Regions from separate parts of the Homo sapiens genome. Here region 2 is linked to region 1. The links are contacts of gene promoters, found by promoter capture Hi-C in human tissues and cell types (Jung and others, 2019). All regions are on one chromosome and are shown on one strand. The core of a region is centred on a gene start or on the middle of the fragment in contact, and the rest is flanking DNA. Distances in the headings are between cores, read along the strand shown. Region 1 holds the start of PLXND1 (plexin D1). Region 2 overlaps HMCES (5-hydroxymethylcytosine binding, ES cell specific).

Region 1 (7,211 bases), core at 2,795-5,294:
CCCTAGAACTTAAAGTATAATTTAAAAAAAAGGGGGGTTGCTAAGACCCCCCCCGCAGGGTTGCTCCCACGGGGAAATGAGACGGGTCCAGCCCCCGAGAAGCAGCAGTGATGGCTCCCGGCACCACCTAGGCCCATGGCTGGATTGCCAAGCCGTCCCTAGGACTCTTGTTTCCAGCACCTTCCTGTGGCTGAGGCGGTGCTCTAAAGCATTAACCTTGCAGGGGCATTTCCTGCAAGGAAACGTTCTCAGAGGCCAGGCCCAAGGGACGGGAGGGCAGGAGCCCCCTCCTCCCAGCGCAACCCTGGCCCCACTGTTATTTTTTCCAATTGAAGAAGAAAAACATTTCCTCTGTCTCCTCACAGCTCTGCCCTGGGCAGTCAGAGGTGAGAATGGACAGGACAGGGTGGGAAGCCCACCCAGTGGGGTGGAAGGCCCAGGCCCGCCTTCTCCGAGCCAGCATAGCCGTTGACCACCGTGCCCCAAGCAAGACTGCCCTGACTCGGCCACCAGGTCCTCGTCTTCAAAGGCACTGCTGGACATTTCCCAAATTTCAGGCATTTTGGTGGCATCTGGATTATCACCTATTTCACATTTGTCTTTAACTCACTTTTAAAGGACTTCAATCAATGCATTTATCAAGGAAGCTTTACATCATTACTGTACATGGAAAACCAGTAGCACTTGCCAAAACCAGAAAGTAACGGCAAGTACAAAGAAAACAAAGCGCTATCAGTACATTCTAGCACGCTGATGTCAACAGCCCTGAGTTTGAGACCTTCTCTCTATTAAAAAGAGACAGTGACAAATGTTACAGTCATTAAAGACATGTTAGCCTCAAACCAAGACCTTTTCCTTGATATAATCAGACTTGAACAAAAACTGAAAAAGGCCCAAATTGCAGTGTGAATAACCAACTAGGTCTGGCTATTCTGGGTTAGTTCATTCCAAGTTAGTTATTGCTGGGTCCCACCTAATCCCCACTCCTGAGTACCTTTCATCTCCCCTTGGTTCCCTCCAAAATTCCCTCTGGAAGAACACCTCATTGCATCTTAGTAAGGCCAGGGAAGGTGTGGTTTGTTCCTTCCTTTATTCATTCATTCAGCCAGTAATTGTCAGCACCTCCTCTGCCCAGCCAGGGGTATAGGGGCTGCCACCATGAGCCATCCTGGCCTGATGGTGCTCCCAGCTAATGGGTAGAAGGGAGAAATCATAAGATGTGGAGCCAGATCTGGGTTTCAATCCTTACCTTGCTAATGCCCCTCAGTTTCCCCATCTGTGAAATGGGTTTGCTGACCACAGCCTAGTCAGCTGGCTGCAAGGATGGTGTAAGATCTGGTAGGGCAGTGCTGGGCACAGGATTCACTCTCACCGTCTGGTGGCTCTGCTAGCCACATTGGGGCTCAGGACAGGAGGTGGAGCCCTGGTCTTTAGTTGCAATGCCCCCCACCCCAACTCCTGGCTCTAACATGGGCTTCAGGGGTCATGGTTCACTGCCACAAGGCGGGGAGAAACTGGTGTTTGCTAAGAGCCTTGTTGTGCTTGACACCTGTTATGTTATATTCTCCATCTCACACCCTCCCAGGGGCAGGTGTTCTGCTACGATTGTCCTCATTTTACAGTTGAGGAAACTGAGGCTCAGAGAGGGTGAGTGCCTTGCACAAGACCACACAGCACTTCTCACCTCCAGTTGATGTGAGGATACTCAGACCCGAATACCCTTCACCTAGAGAGCTCCTAAACCCCACTGCTCAGCTTGGCAGGGAGCTTGTGTCCCAAGTGCCCAGGATCATCACCACAGGCTGGTCTAAGACAACACTGAGCATTATCCTCACGGCTCAGTGGGGGGAGCTGCAGGATGCAGCAAGATGAACCAGATGAGCGGGAGACAGGAAGGAAGAGAGGAGGGGCTGGAGAGGGAGTGGGGGTGAGGGATAGGGAGGGAGACAGAGAGAGAGACAGAGATAGAGACACAGAGAGACAGATGAAGAGTGGAAAGGGAAGGGGGCAAGACACTGAGAGAAGGAGAGACAAAGAGAGTGAACGGGAGGAGCAAGACAGATAGGAACAGAGATGGGTGGGGGCAGGAGAGAGAGAGATAAGACAGAGAGACCAGCGGATGGACTGGGGTGGGGGCACTGAGGATGTGAGTGAGGAGGAGGGGCATGGAGGCAGGCCCCATGCACCCCTGCTGGGCTCTGCAGTTGGCCCCCACGGGTGGCACGATGTGCGCCTTCTCCATCCAGAGAGGAAGACAGGGACACAGTCCCACGGGCAGTCCCCTGAGTGGCTCTTGGTGGGTGGATGGGCCTGGGAGGGGGCCTCCAATTTCCTGCAGCTCAACACTCCCGGCCATCAAAGCAGTGGCCAGACCAGGGCTGAGGGGTCTGGAACAAGGCGGGCAGGATGGCAGGAAGGCGAGGGTGTTGAGGGAAGTGGGGGGCGGCTGCAGGCCCAGCCTTTCCTGCCGGCCCCATGGTGCACAGACACCCCTGCCCTTCCTTCCTGGTTGGGTGGGAAAGAGGAAAATGAGGTCCCGCTACTCTCAGAGTGAGGCCCACCGGGCACCCTGTGGAAGCTGGGGGTCTGATGGGAGGCCCCGTTCTGAGAGGTCGGAGCTGAAGGGCTTTTGCTTTCAAACACTGTAGCTCTGCTCCTCATGAGCTGTGCATCTTGGGCCAGTCCCTTCCCCTCAGCCTTGGTTTCCATATCTGGAAGATGGGTTACCAATAGCGCTCGCCTCGGGGGAATCTGTGAGGAAAAAGAGAGCCCGTACATGGCAAGTGCTTGGCACAGTGTCTGGCACGGGCTAGCCCTGTGTGAGCACCCCCGCAAAACAGCCACGGCGCATGGTCCTCACAGGGCTGTGACCTTGGAACCAGGCTGCCTGCCCCTAACGCTGCTTTTGAGATCAAGAACCCTGCCCAGTGCCGGCTTTTGTGGGACTAATCTTCCACTAAGCCTGGGAGGATGTCAGGGAAAGTGCCTGGCGGGGGTGCCAGGGGTGGGGGTGCGGCTGGGTCTCCACAGGAGGCAACTGTGGGCTCCAGGACCAAGGCCTTGCTCTGGCTATCGGTTGTGGGCCACTGGCTGGAACTATTTCCTCTCTCCATGTTTTCCTCATTTATATATCTGACCCTGAGCACTGGTCCCTCTGGCCCTGCCACTTGTAAATCCCTTTTATGGGTCTGGGGTTTGGGGGACAGATTATGGGGTCTGGGGGGCCCGACTGGCCGGCACCGGGGGAGCGAAGGCCTGGACAGTGCCTGAGAAAGGTGGTGGAGGGAGGCTGAGTGTGGAGGGGAGACACAGGGTTCGGGAAGGCAGAGGGAGAAGGAAAGGGGAGCTCAGAGGGACCGAGAGAGGGACGGAGGGTCCGAGGGGGAGGCAGAGGGAGCCACGGAGAGAGGGAGCGAGCGTCAGGGACGGAAAAACGGAGCAGGAGAGAGAAGGAGACTAGAAAGGGCCGGGGGCGGGGCTGCCAGGGACTGGAGAGCGAAGCGGAGTCGGAGGGAGAAGGAGAAGCAGAGGCAGAACCCGGAGAAGCGCCACACGCGCGGAGTTTGGGGTGGGGACAGAGACGGAGAGACGCAGAGACCGAGAGACGCAGAGAGAGGGAGAGACGGGGTGGGGGAGAGGGCGGAAAAGAGAAAACAGGCGCGAGCGAGGCAGGCCAAGCGGCCAAGTGGGAGGAAAGAGCGAGGAGAGCGAGCGACGGCGGCGGCGGCTACGGGGAGGGACCCTGGGGCCGCGGGCGGGTCCTGGAGGGCGCGGGCGGCGGGACCCGCGGACGGCGGGGCGTGGCCCAGGGCGGCCAGGGGCAGGCGGGGGTCCCGGGGGCGGGCGGGGCCGGGGCGGGGAGTGAGGGCGTGTCCGCAGCGGAGCCGCCCCCGCCCCGCCCCCGGGCTGCGCGGCGAGGCTGACCCGGGCCCGGGCGCCGGGGTCGGGGGCGGCTGGCGCGGGCAGGAAGCGCATCGCGGCCCGGGCCCGCCCCCCGCCTCCCGCCGCCTCCGGGCTCCCGGCTCCCGGCCGCGCCTCGCCCCATGCACTCGCCGCGCCGCGCAGCCCGCGCACGCCCGGATGGCTCCTCGCGCCGCGGGCGGCGCACCCCTTAGCGCCCGGGCCGCCGCCGCCAGCCCCCCGCCGTTCCAGACGCCGCCGCGGTGCCCGGTGCCGCTGCTGTTGCTGCTGCTCCTGGGGGCGGCGCGGGCCGGCGCCCTGGAGATCCAGCGTCGGTTCCCCTCGCCCACGCCCACCAACAACTTCGCCCTGGACGGCGCGGCGGGGACCGTGTACCTGGCGGCCGTCAACCGCCTCTATCAGCTGTCGGGCGCCAACCTGAGCCTGGAGGCCGAGGCGGCCGTGGGCCCGGTGCCCGACAGCCCGCTGTGTCACGCTCCGCAGCTGCCGCAGGCCTCGTGCGAGCACCCGCGGCGCCTCACGGACAACTACAACAAGATCCTGCAGCTGGACCCCGGCCAGGGCCTGGTAGTCGTGTGCGGGTCCATCTACCAGGGCTTCTGCCAGCTGCGGCGCCGGGGCAACATCTCGGCCGTGGCCGTGCGCTTCCCGCCCGCCGCGCCGCCCGCCGAGCCCGTCACGGTGTTCCCCAGCATGCTGAACGTGGCGGCCAACCACCCGAACGCGTCCACCGTGGGGCTAGTTCTGCCTCCCGCCGCGGGCGCGGGGGGCAGCCGCCTGCTCGTGGGCGCCACGTACACCGGTTACGGCAGCTCCTTCTTCCCGCGCAACCGCAGCCTGGAGGACCACCGCTTCGAGAACACGCCCGAGATCGCCATCCGCTCCCTGGACACGCGCGGCGACCTGGCCAAGCTCTTCACCTTCGACCTCAACCCCTCCGACGACAACATCCTCAAGATCAAGCAGGGCGCCAAGGAGCAGCACAAGCTGGGCTTCGTGAGCGCCTTCCTGCACCCGTCCGACCCGCCGCCGGGTGCACAGTCCTACGCGTACCTGGCGCTCAACAGCGAGGCGCGCGCGGGCGACAAGGAGAGCCAGGCGCGGAGCCTGCTGGCGCGCATCTGCCTGCCCCACGGCGCCGGCGGCGACGCCAAGAAGCTCACCGAGTCCTACATCCAGTTGGGCTTGCAGTGCGCGGGCGGCGCGGGCCGCGGCGACCTCTACAGCCGCCTGGTGTCGGTCTTCCCAGCCCGGGAGCGGCTCTTTGCTGTCTTCGAGCGGCCCCAGGGGTCCCCCGCGGCCCGCGCTGCTCCGGCCGCACTCTGCGCCTTCCGCTTCGCCGACGTGCGAGCCGCCATCCGAGCTGCGCGCACCGCCTGCTTCGTGGAACCGGCGCCCGACGTGGTGGCGGTGCTCGACAGCGTGGTGCAGGGCACGGGACCGGCCTGTGAGCGCAAGCTCAACATCCAGGTACACCCGGGCGGTGGCGGCGGCGGCGGCGGCGGCGGCGGCGGGGGCGGGGGCGGGGGCGGGCGGGAACCGAGCGGGTCGTGAGCTGAGTGGGTCACAGGTGGGAGCGCGCAGAGATCCAGATGTACGTGGAACCCAGGTGTGCACGCGAGAATACAGGTGTCCCCCGAGGGGTACTACTGGCGCCTGTATGGCCCAGGTGGGCATGTGCAGGGACTCAAGTGAGTGCCGGCTCATGGGCGCGCATACCTAGGCGTACTGGGAGGGGTCCAAGTTGCCACAGGTACCCAGGTGCGCATAAAGCCCAGGTATGCACGTGAGGGTCACAGGTGCATGCTGAGGGCGCAGTAAGTGACTGCATGCCTGACCAAAGTTGTGTTCTGGGGCCACTGCGTGAGCCTGTCAGAGTTACCATTGCACGTTGGTGATGGGTGCATGGGTGTGGCAGGTGTGCAAGGAGGCACACAGGTGTGCACCAGGGCCCTGCAGATGTCTGCATGGACTTGTGTGCCAGCAAGCTGGGGCCTGAAGACGCACAGGGCAGACAGGTGTACTGCACAGACACTGGTACAACGGGACAGGGCTAGGTGTGCAGTGGGATGTGCGTGGCAGGGGACGCAGGTATTTGGGCATGAGTCGGTACTCTGAGGAGGCTGCATGGTTGGCAAACAGGTGTGTGCCTGAGGCCAACTTTTATTCACCTATTCTGCAAATATTTCCTGAGCACCTAGTATGTACCAGGTGTGGGAGTCTGGGGTAAACAATAGCACTTGTGGAGTGCCAGCTAGGGGCATCACATGTCACAATTCCCAGTTCTCAGAACAACCCTCTCAGGTAGCCTCTATTCTCATCACATTTTACAGATGAAGAAACAGGCACAGAGAGGTTAAGCAACTTGCTGAGGATCACACAGTTGGGCACTAGCAGAGGTGGATTTGAATCCAGCCTGTCTGGCCTCAGCATCTGTGTTTTTAATGCCCAGCCTTTGCTGCCTTCTGGACTTGGATCTCAGAGTGCGTGTGTTTTGGGGGCGTCCCAGGCAGCTGGGGTGGGCAGATGCCAGGGCCAGGAGAATGGAGGGATGTGAACAGGGGTGTTTTGGGGGCAGGAGAGGGCCGTGGGGCTCAGTGGGGAATGAGGAGGAGTACAGGCAGGCATGGGGCCCAGGTGTCTGAGGCTGGGTTGGGCAGTAGCAAGGGGGGCCAGGTTGACGGAATCAGCATGTGTGTTGACATGACAAGGGTGCGGGAGGGGACTTGGTGTGGTTCCCTGAAAGGAAGTTCATGGCAAGGGATTGCTCCTCACACTGGCTTTGGGAGCTGGGTCTGTTGATCCCCATAGTTCACCCTGAGGAATGAGGCCCCAGAATGACACTGGGGCCTTTCCCACACCCTCCACCCATCTGAGTCTGGCGAGCCCACTTCAGCTCCACTGCCTGCCATTCCCTTAGGAAGCTGCATCTCCATCAGCAAAATGCAGAACTCAGCCTTCTTGTGGTGACCCAAGCCTTCCTTGGGGCCCCACCCTGTCCCTTCTCCATGGCTGTGACAAGAATTTCATGAGATTAACCATTCCTCTGTGGGCGGGCCCAACACTGGGGCTTTGAGAAAATGCAGATTCCTTCTCCCAAGGTCGAGGTCGGTCTCCCACGACTGCCCACCATCTGGCCGGCCACCCTGAAAGTAAAGGTCACGGTGGGTGAGCAGGGCAGACAGTCCAAAGGGTGGTGGGGCTGCTTGCCCTGTGCCATGGTTGGTTCATCCACCATCTCCACCCCAGAGCTTCATCTCGCAGGCAACTGTGTTTGGCACTGGGGGTCT
Region 2 (7,211 bases), core at 3,199-5,698, 310 kb after region 1:
ATCGGCCAACGCCAACGGTGCTGCGCCAGGAGCGTTCTGGGCTCGGCGCCGCCCAGTCCTCCTGGTCATCTCGGAAGCTGTTTTCTTCCAGCTGCTTGGGACAGCTTTTGTGAATGCCTCCCTTAGGGATGTTCGAAAGAGGAGTGGCCCGACACTGCTAGAAACTGGTCCTTTCCTTCCCACCTGTGGTAAGGATAGTTTCTGCTACGGCAAGCACTCAAACTCAGGCTGGTTTGAAGCTAAAGGATTCAGACGACTTCCAAGTATCAAGAATGAAAGAAAAAGAAACATAATAAGGAGCCCACCACCAAGACTTGTAGTTATTTCCTCAGAAAGCCCCCATGCCCCATTTGTGACAAAATCCATTCCTGAAGACTGATTCTAGAAGAAACCAAGTAAGATCTAGAACTTTCCCCACCAGCATCACTTTCCAAAATGTAGGCAGAAGTTTACCAAATACAATTTATTCAGGAAAAAAATAAATTTTAAGAACTTATTTTTATTTTATTTTAGAACTTAAAAATAAATTTTTAAGAACTAAAAAAGTGAAAGAGCCCAGTGGCTGAGCAGAAAACAGCTTACTACAAGGAGTACCAGATCAGGGCAGAGACTTCCCAGCTGGGTAAGGCATGCTTTGAGGGAAGACTCCACCAGCCCTGCCAGGAAAGGGCAGCAGGCGCAGTGCCCCTATGGGGCCCACATGGCTGGTAACAGCAGCAGGACACCTCTTCCAAAGCTGTCCACCAGCCCCACTAGGGGCTCCTACTCATGGCAAAAAAGACTACATGAGCCCACAACTGTCAACTAACACAGTGCCACCTCCTCCCAAAGCAAACACATATACATACAATGTTAAGAACCTATTATCAGAACAGCAGTGCAGCAGACCCTGGCCTTGGTCTCTGAAAGTCCTGTGTCACTGGCTGTAAGGACGCTTGGCCACAGGTTCCTCCTCCTTCTCCCGCTTCAGCCATTGCTCTAGGAGTCCTGCAGTGCCTCTCTTGGTGGGGAGTGGACTCTTCTGCAGGAACTGACTGGACCACTGGGGAACATCTGACTCTTCCTTTTGAGGTGTTTTTGAGTCTTCCTTTTTGGGTGACTTTGTGGCCAACCACTGCAACATCCTCTGGCTACTGCCACTTGCCCTGAGCTCCTACAAGAAAGAGGAAAAAGCTCAAACCATACAGCTCAAGCTTTTGGGAAAAGGCCAAGTCCAAGGGAAGAAACAGGGGAAGAGGCATTAGGTACTTACCCAGGCTTGGAAAATGTTACTAAGGGCCAGCTGGGGCCCACCAGTCAAGAGTGGAAAGAGAGGAGTGTGCTCTAAGGGGCAGGAAAGTAGATCTTAGAGAAGGTTTCACAGAGGATTGTGTGGGACCAGCCAGAGAAGAGAGCTGAAAGGCATTCCAAATGTGCAGAGAATGAAGCATTCTCAGGGAAAAGAATGTAATTCAGCATGACCCAGGGGGAGTGTTGGAAAACGAGACTGGAGAGATACAGAAGAATTTCTAACAGCCACTGTGATAAGGCTAAATTGTTTCCTCTTTGTGCAGACAATCTGTACAACCTCTTCTTGACTGTCACTACTCCCTTCTGCTTCCTTTACATCACACCCCAATCCTGAACTGAAAGGTTCTGAATTAGCACAATGCCACCTCTCCAGAATGTGACATCTTTTGGAGTAAACACCATGGCAGGGCTAGGTACAGTGGTGCATGCCTGTAATCCCAGCACTTTGGGAGGCTGAGGTGGGAAGATCGCTTGAGCCCAGGAGTTTGAGACCAGCCTAGGAAACATAGGAAGACCCCATCTCTATAAAAAATTTAAAAAAATGAGCCAGGCATGGTGGTGTACGCTTGTAGTCCCAGCTACCTGGGAGGCTGAGGTGGGAGGATCATTTGAGCCCAGGAGTTCGAGGCTGCAGTGAACTATGATCATGCCACTGCAGTCTAACCTGGGCAACAGAGCATGACCCTGTCTCTAAAAAAGAAAAAGGAAAAAAAAAAAGACCATGGCAGAAATGGGCAGCGTCTAGTCCAAAATGAATACAGGTTGAGCATCCTAACCCTGAAAATCCAAGATCCAAAATGCTCCAAAATCCTAAACTTTTTAAGTGCTTACATGACTTTGAAAGGAAATGCTTGTTGGTACATTTCAGATTTAGGATATTCGGCTAGGAAGTATATAATGCAAATATTCCAAAATTTGAAAAAATTCAAAATCTAAAACACTTCTGTTCCCAAGCATTTTGGATAGGGATATTCAACCTGTATATAGAATTAGTTTTAGAGTTATCTAATTTTTAAAAAGTGCCACGGTTGCAGGAGTTTATCAGAATCAAAACAAAAGAAAAAAAGATGACACTGTGGGTATGGAAAAAACTTTAAGAAAAATAGAGAGGGGGACAGCTGTTCTTACAATCATCCTTAACACGGCATTCTAAAATGTCTATTCTTGGAACATTCCAAGTATGTCCTATTTTAAGTCCCTCCATGCCACCTAAAAACAATCACTACTCCTAAATCCTTACCCCCAAATGTCAGTGGGGGCCAGCTTTTTGCTCTGGAACTTCTCTCCCCACTGCAGGCCTTCTGTTTGTTTGCCTTCCCTTCCTAAAATACACCCTCTGGATCCTTGCTGATTCTAAGAAGTTAAGGTTCATGGTAGGAATGCTCTCAAATCCTCCTGAAGGAGACTAAGGACTGGAGCTCCTGCAACTTGTAGTTCGGAAAGCAAAGATACAGAAAAGAGACACCAAAAATCATGGTTGGGGACGGAGAAACAATATGGTCAAGGGCTCCTTTGTCTTTTTCACCATCACTGTCTAGATTAGGAGTCCTCAAATGTGGTTTATCAGACTCATCAAAGAAGCTTTTTTTTTTTTCCTTTTTGTGGAGAACGGGGTCTCACTATATTGCCCAGGCAGGTCTGGAACTCCTCAGGTAAAGCTACCCTCCCACCTCTGCCTTCTAAGTGCTGGCATTACAGGCATGAGCCACTGCACCCAGCTGAAGCTTCTTTTTTTTGAAACGCAGTCTCGCCCTGTCACCAAGCTGGAGTGCAGTGGCCCAATCTAGGCTCACTGCAACCTCCACCTCCCAGGTTCAAGTGATTCTCCTGCCTCAGCCTCCCAAGTAGCTGGGATCACTACTTGGGACGGGCCACCACACCCAGCTAATTTTTGTATTTTTAGTAGAGACGGGGTTTCACCATATTGGCCAGGATGGTCTCGATCTGTTGACCTCGTGATCCACTTGCCTCGGCCTCCCAAAGTGCTGGGATTACAGGCGTGAGCCACTGCGCCCAGCCTGAAGCTTCTTAATTATACAAAAGTCCAAGCCTAGCTCTAAATGTTGATTCAGGATGTCTAGATAGGGTCTAGCATTTACATTTTGAAAGAGTTCTTCTCCTGGGGACTCTGAGTCACAGCCAGGTTTGAGAATTGCTGCTCTACACTACCTTGCTGTGTACAAGGAGTATGAGAGCTTTTGATGGTCCAAATTAAAGGGCTGATCATAAAAGGCCACATCCTGAAAGAAAGAGAACACTGACAGAAGACAGAAAGCTCAAAAAGGACTGTACCAGTCACAGGCCCCTACCTTTTTGACCACCAAGTCGACAGGAGCCAGACACTCAGGAGTGTTGTTTCGCGAGTTGTTCACCACAGAAGAGACTGCATGGAAGGTGATGTTCTCTGTTGGGTGGATTAATTTCAGAGCTTCCTGAGTTGAGACTTCACCAAAGTCAAGCCATTTAGAAACTGCCTCCTCTCCATCTAATATGGCAGGCATCCTGGCCAGGGAAGTTAAGACAATGGTTGGGAGAGGTAGCATGAGAATAAGGAGAGAAGGGAGAGAGACTTGAGTCAGCTGATACCTCAAATATCACAAGGGGAGCTTGCCCTCCCTCTGCGCCTCACATGCTGATTGCTGCCATGTGTTCCCTGAGCACAGGGTGACAGGGCACCAGATTCAACACCTGGAGAGCCATGTTATAAAGTTTCATGGCAAAGACAGTGAAGAGTACTAACTGGTCTAGTGTACTCCAGTGTCCACTCTAGTAAATTGGTAAACTTTCTATGACACCCCAGCCTAGAATGAAGGGAAAATAGATCTTGAAAACTTGTCTATCAACAGCAATCTCAAGCCTCACCACCTCTGAAAGACTTACAGTAAGAAAATTGTGAACAAAAGGAAGCCATGCGTCAGAAAAGCAGAGAAGCTGTCAAACATGACTCCTGGTACCCAGAGGATGTAAGGAAAATATACTAGGTTTAGCTTCCAGTTTTATGTCCCAGGCCAATGCAGTGTGGCACACACTTTTTGGGTGGTACAGTTGATTCAGATACAGACAAATGTTCATTTGTCTCCTAAATATATACATAACATATAAAATAATGTTAAATACTGTAATGTATAAAATAATGGTACATTTTTAAATGAATGGTGATTTAGATTAAATGAAATATAATTTTTAAAGGTTAATTACTAAAAGAGAACTACATCACATGAAAGCATATTTTTTTTTTTTTCTTCTTTTTTTTTTTTTTTGAGACAGAGTCTTGCTGTGTTGCCCAGGCTGGAGTGCAGTGGCGTGATCTCCACTCACTGCAAGCTCCACCCCCCGGGTTCATGCCATTCTTCTGCCTCAGCCTCCTGAGTAGCTGGGACTACAGGCACCCACCACCATGCCCGGCTAATTTTTTTTTTTTGAGATGGAGTCTCACTGTGTTGCCCAGGCTGGAGTTCAATGGCATGATCTCGGCTCATTGCAAGCTCCACCTCCCGGGTTCACGCCATTCTCCTGCCTCAGCCTCCCAAGTAGCTGGGACTACAGGCAGCCGCCACCACGTCTGGCTAATTTTTTGTATTTTTTAGTAGAGACAGAGTTTCACCGTGTTAGCCAGGATGGTCTCGATCTCCTGACCTCATGATCCACCCGCCTCAGCCTCCCAAAGTGCTGGGATTACAGGTGTGAGCCACCGCGCCTGGCCATTTTTTTGTATTTTTAGTAGAGATGGGGTTTCACAGTGTTCGCCAGGATGGTCTTGATCTCCTGAACTCGTGATCCACCCACCTCGGCGTCCCAAAGTGCTGGGATTACAGGTGTGAGCCACTGCGCCTGGCCACATGAAAGCATATTTTCACAGATATAGCCTAGGACAAGGCTAAAGCAGGTAATCCTGACAGGTGTCACACTGCATTCTTTTCAGGAGAACTCCAAAAAATCACTTCAGGGAGTACTCAGCTCTGGCAGAAAGTATAAAGGTAGAATACAAGTATAGTCAGTTCTGCCAATGCTTATGTTTAAAATGCAAATCTGTTCCAATGCCACTGATACAGTAGAGAGCAATTGGAGCACAATGCAAATTTTGTGTTTGCTTATGCACAGTTTCATCTGTGAGAAACACAAGGTGAACACAGAAAACTGCACCCAGATGAACTGAGCCACAAAATGCACCCATCTCAAACACTGACTGCTACTTTGGCTCACTGCATACTATTTTACAAAATTGTGTTTTGCTCTTCTTTTGCCTTTCTGAACTTTTCTATATATATATATATATATATATATAAAGATGCACATTTAACATCTCAAACATGTCTAAGCTTCCTGGCTCAAAACATGGTAGGCAATGCATGTGAATGGAGACATTTTAAATATTGAAAAGAAGCTTGAAATAGTAAAAGATCCTGGAAGAAAAATGAGAACATGTGATTATTTCCTGAGCAAAGGATATCAAGGAGTCCACATCAGTGATGATGCTACAAAAAAAAAATGACCATGGCTGGAACAACTTCAAGAAGTACTCCAGCCAGGCGCGGTGGCTCACACCTGTAATCCCAGCACTTTGGGAGGCCGAGGCAGGTGGATCACAAGGTCAGGAGATCTAGACCATCCTGGGTAACATGGCGAAACCCTGTTAGCCAGGCGTGGCGGCGTGTGCCTGTAGTCCCAGCTACTCGGGAGGCTGAGGCAGGAGAATGGTGTGAACCCAGGAGGCAGAGCTTGCAGTGAGCCGAGATCGCACCACTGCACTCCAGCCTGGGCGACAGAGTGAGACTCTGTCTCAAAAAAAAAAAAAAAAAAAAAGAAGCACCTATAAGGTTCATACAAAAAATATATAAATAAGGCCTATATATAAATAAAATCTTAAATACCACAAGTGGCTCCTTTTAGTGCTAGTAGTGGTTAGTTTACTGGTTTCGAACATGGCGACAATTTTCAAAGCTTTCTGCTATTGGGAGAAGCCACAAGTACAGATGAAAATGCGCTAAAGAATTTCTAGCAGTGATACAGAAGTTAATTGGAGGAGAAGGCTATACATTGAATCAAATATTCAATTTTAATTAAATAGCATCTATTACAAATGCATGCCTCAAAGGAAATACGTTCATAGGAGGAAAACTGTGCCCCAGGATTTAAGACTGCAAAAGATAAAAAATTTTACATAACCTTCCTTCCACAACTTCACAATAACTCATGAGATGCATTTCTTCCAACACTCACTTCCACAAGCAACAAGCAAACTTCAGGTCTTGTCGAGGTAAAGTGCCATATTTATTGTAGTATGTATGTATGTATGTATTTATTGAGATGGAATCTCACTCTGTCACCCAGGCTGGGGTGCAGTGGCACGATCTTGGCTCACTGCAAGCTCCACCTCCCGGGGTCACACCATTCTCTTGCCTCAGCCTCCCATGTAGCTGGGACTACAGGAGCCCGCCACCATGCCCGGCTAATTTAGTTGTTGTATTTTTAGTAGAGACGGGGTTTCACCGTGTTAGCCAGGATGGTCTCGATCTCCTGACCTCGTGATCCACCCACCTCAGCATCCCAAAGTGCTGGGATTACAGGCGTGAGCCACCGTGCTCAGCCTGTAGTATTTATTTATTTCTTAACCACCTAACATGTATAAAACAGTGCTACTGTTTTATTAGGTTTCCATTATTTTTTTAATGTGTCACTGACAACATTTTAAGTGTTGTCTCCTTAACCCCACTTTTCCCCTAAGTTATTTGGTTTTTATTCTATCGTTTTGCATAGTACAGTGATTTTTAGGAATGTATGTCATGTTAGAGTCAAACTGATTGTAACTTTACGTTGTAAAATGACTTGGTTTCCTACTCTCTAAAGCTACCTAAAAGCAGAGGACAAATCATCTTTTGGATCCTTTTGGATCCAGGGCTAAGAAGTATGACTTGCCTGTG

The links. Contacts are between HindIII fragments. The study calls those that stand out against the background at their distance.
Region 2: a fragment that was not itself captured here is called in contact with the fragment with the promoter of PLXND1 in region 1 in 1 of the 25 tissues and cell types used here (adrenal gland).

The regions. Positions count from the first base shown.
Region 1 is chr3:129,603,509-129,610,719 of GRCh38, reverse strand. It overlaps PLXND1 (plexin D1), which reads left to right and starts at 4,044. Exons shown (of 36, transcript NM_015103.3): 1 at 4,044-5,391. The coding sequence starts at 4,081. It overlaps LOC124909431 (a long non-coding RNA gene), which reads left to right. Exons shown (of 2, transcript XR_007096079.1): 2 at 366-842. RefSeq lists enhancers at 1,832-2,822, 2,823-3,815, 4,808-5,800, 6,793-7,211 and silencers at 3,716-3,875, 4,026-4,085. The HindIII fragment of the contact is 25,180 bases long and covers 1-7,211 here.
Region 2 is chr3:129,298,531-129,305,741 of GRCh38, reverse strand. HMCES (5-hydroxymethylcytosine binding, ES cell specific) reads right to left here. Exons shown (of 7, transcript NM_020187.3): 5 at 7,207-7,211; 6 at 3,600-3,792; 7 at 1-1,153. The coding sequence ends at 917. Among named protein-coding and RNA genes, the nearest start is that of H1-10-AS1, 14 kb to the left of the region's middle. RefSeq lists a cis regulatory region at 1-120 and an enhancer at 1-184. The HindIII fragment of the contact is 3,010 bases long and covers 2,944-5,953 here.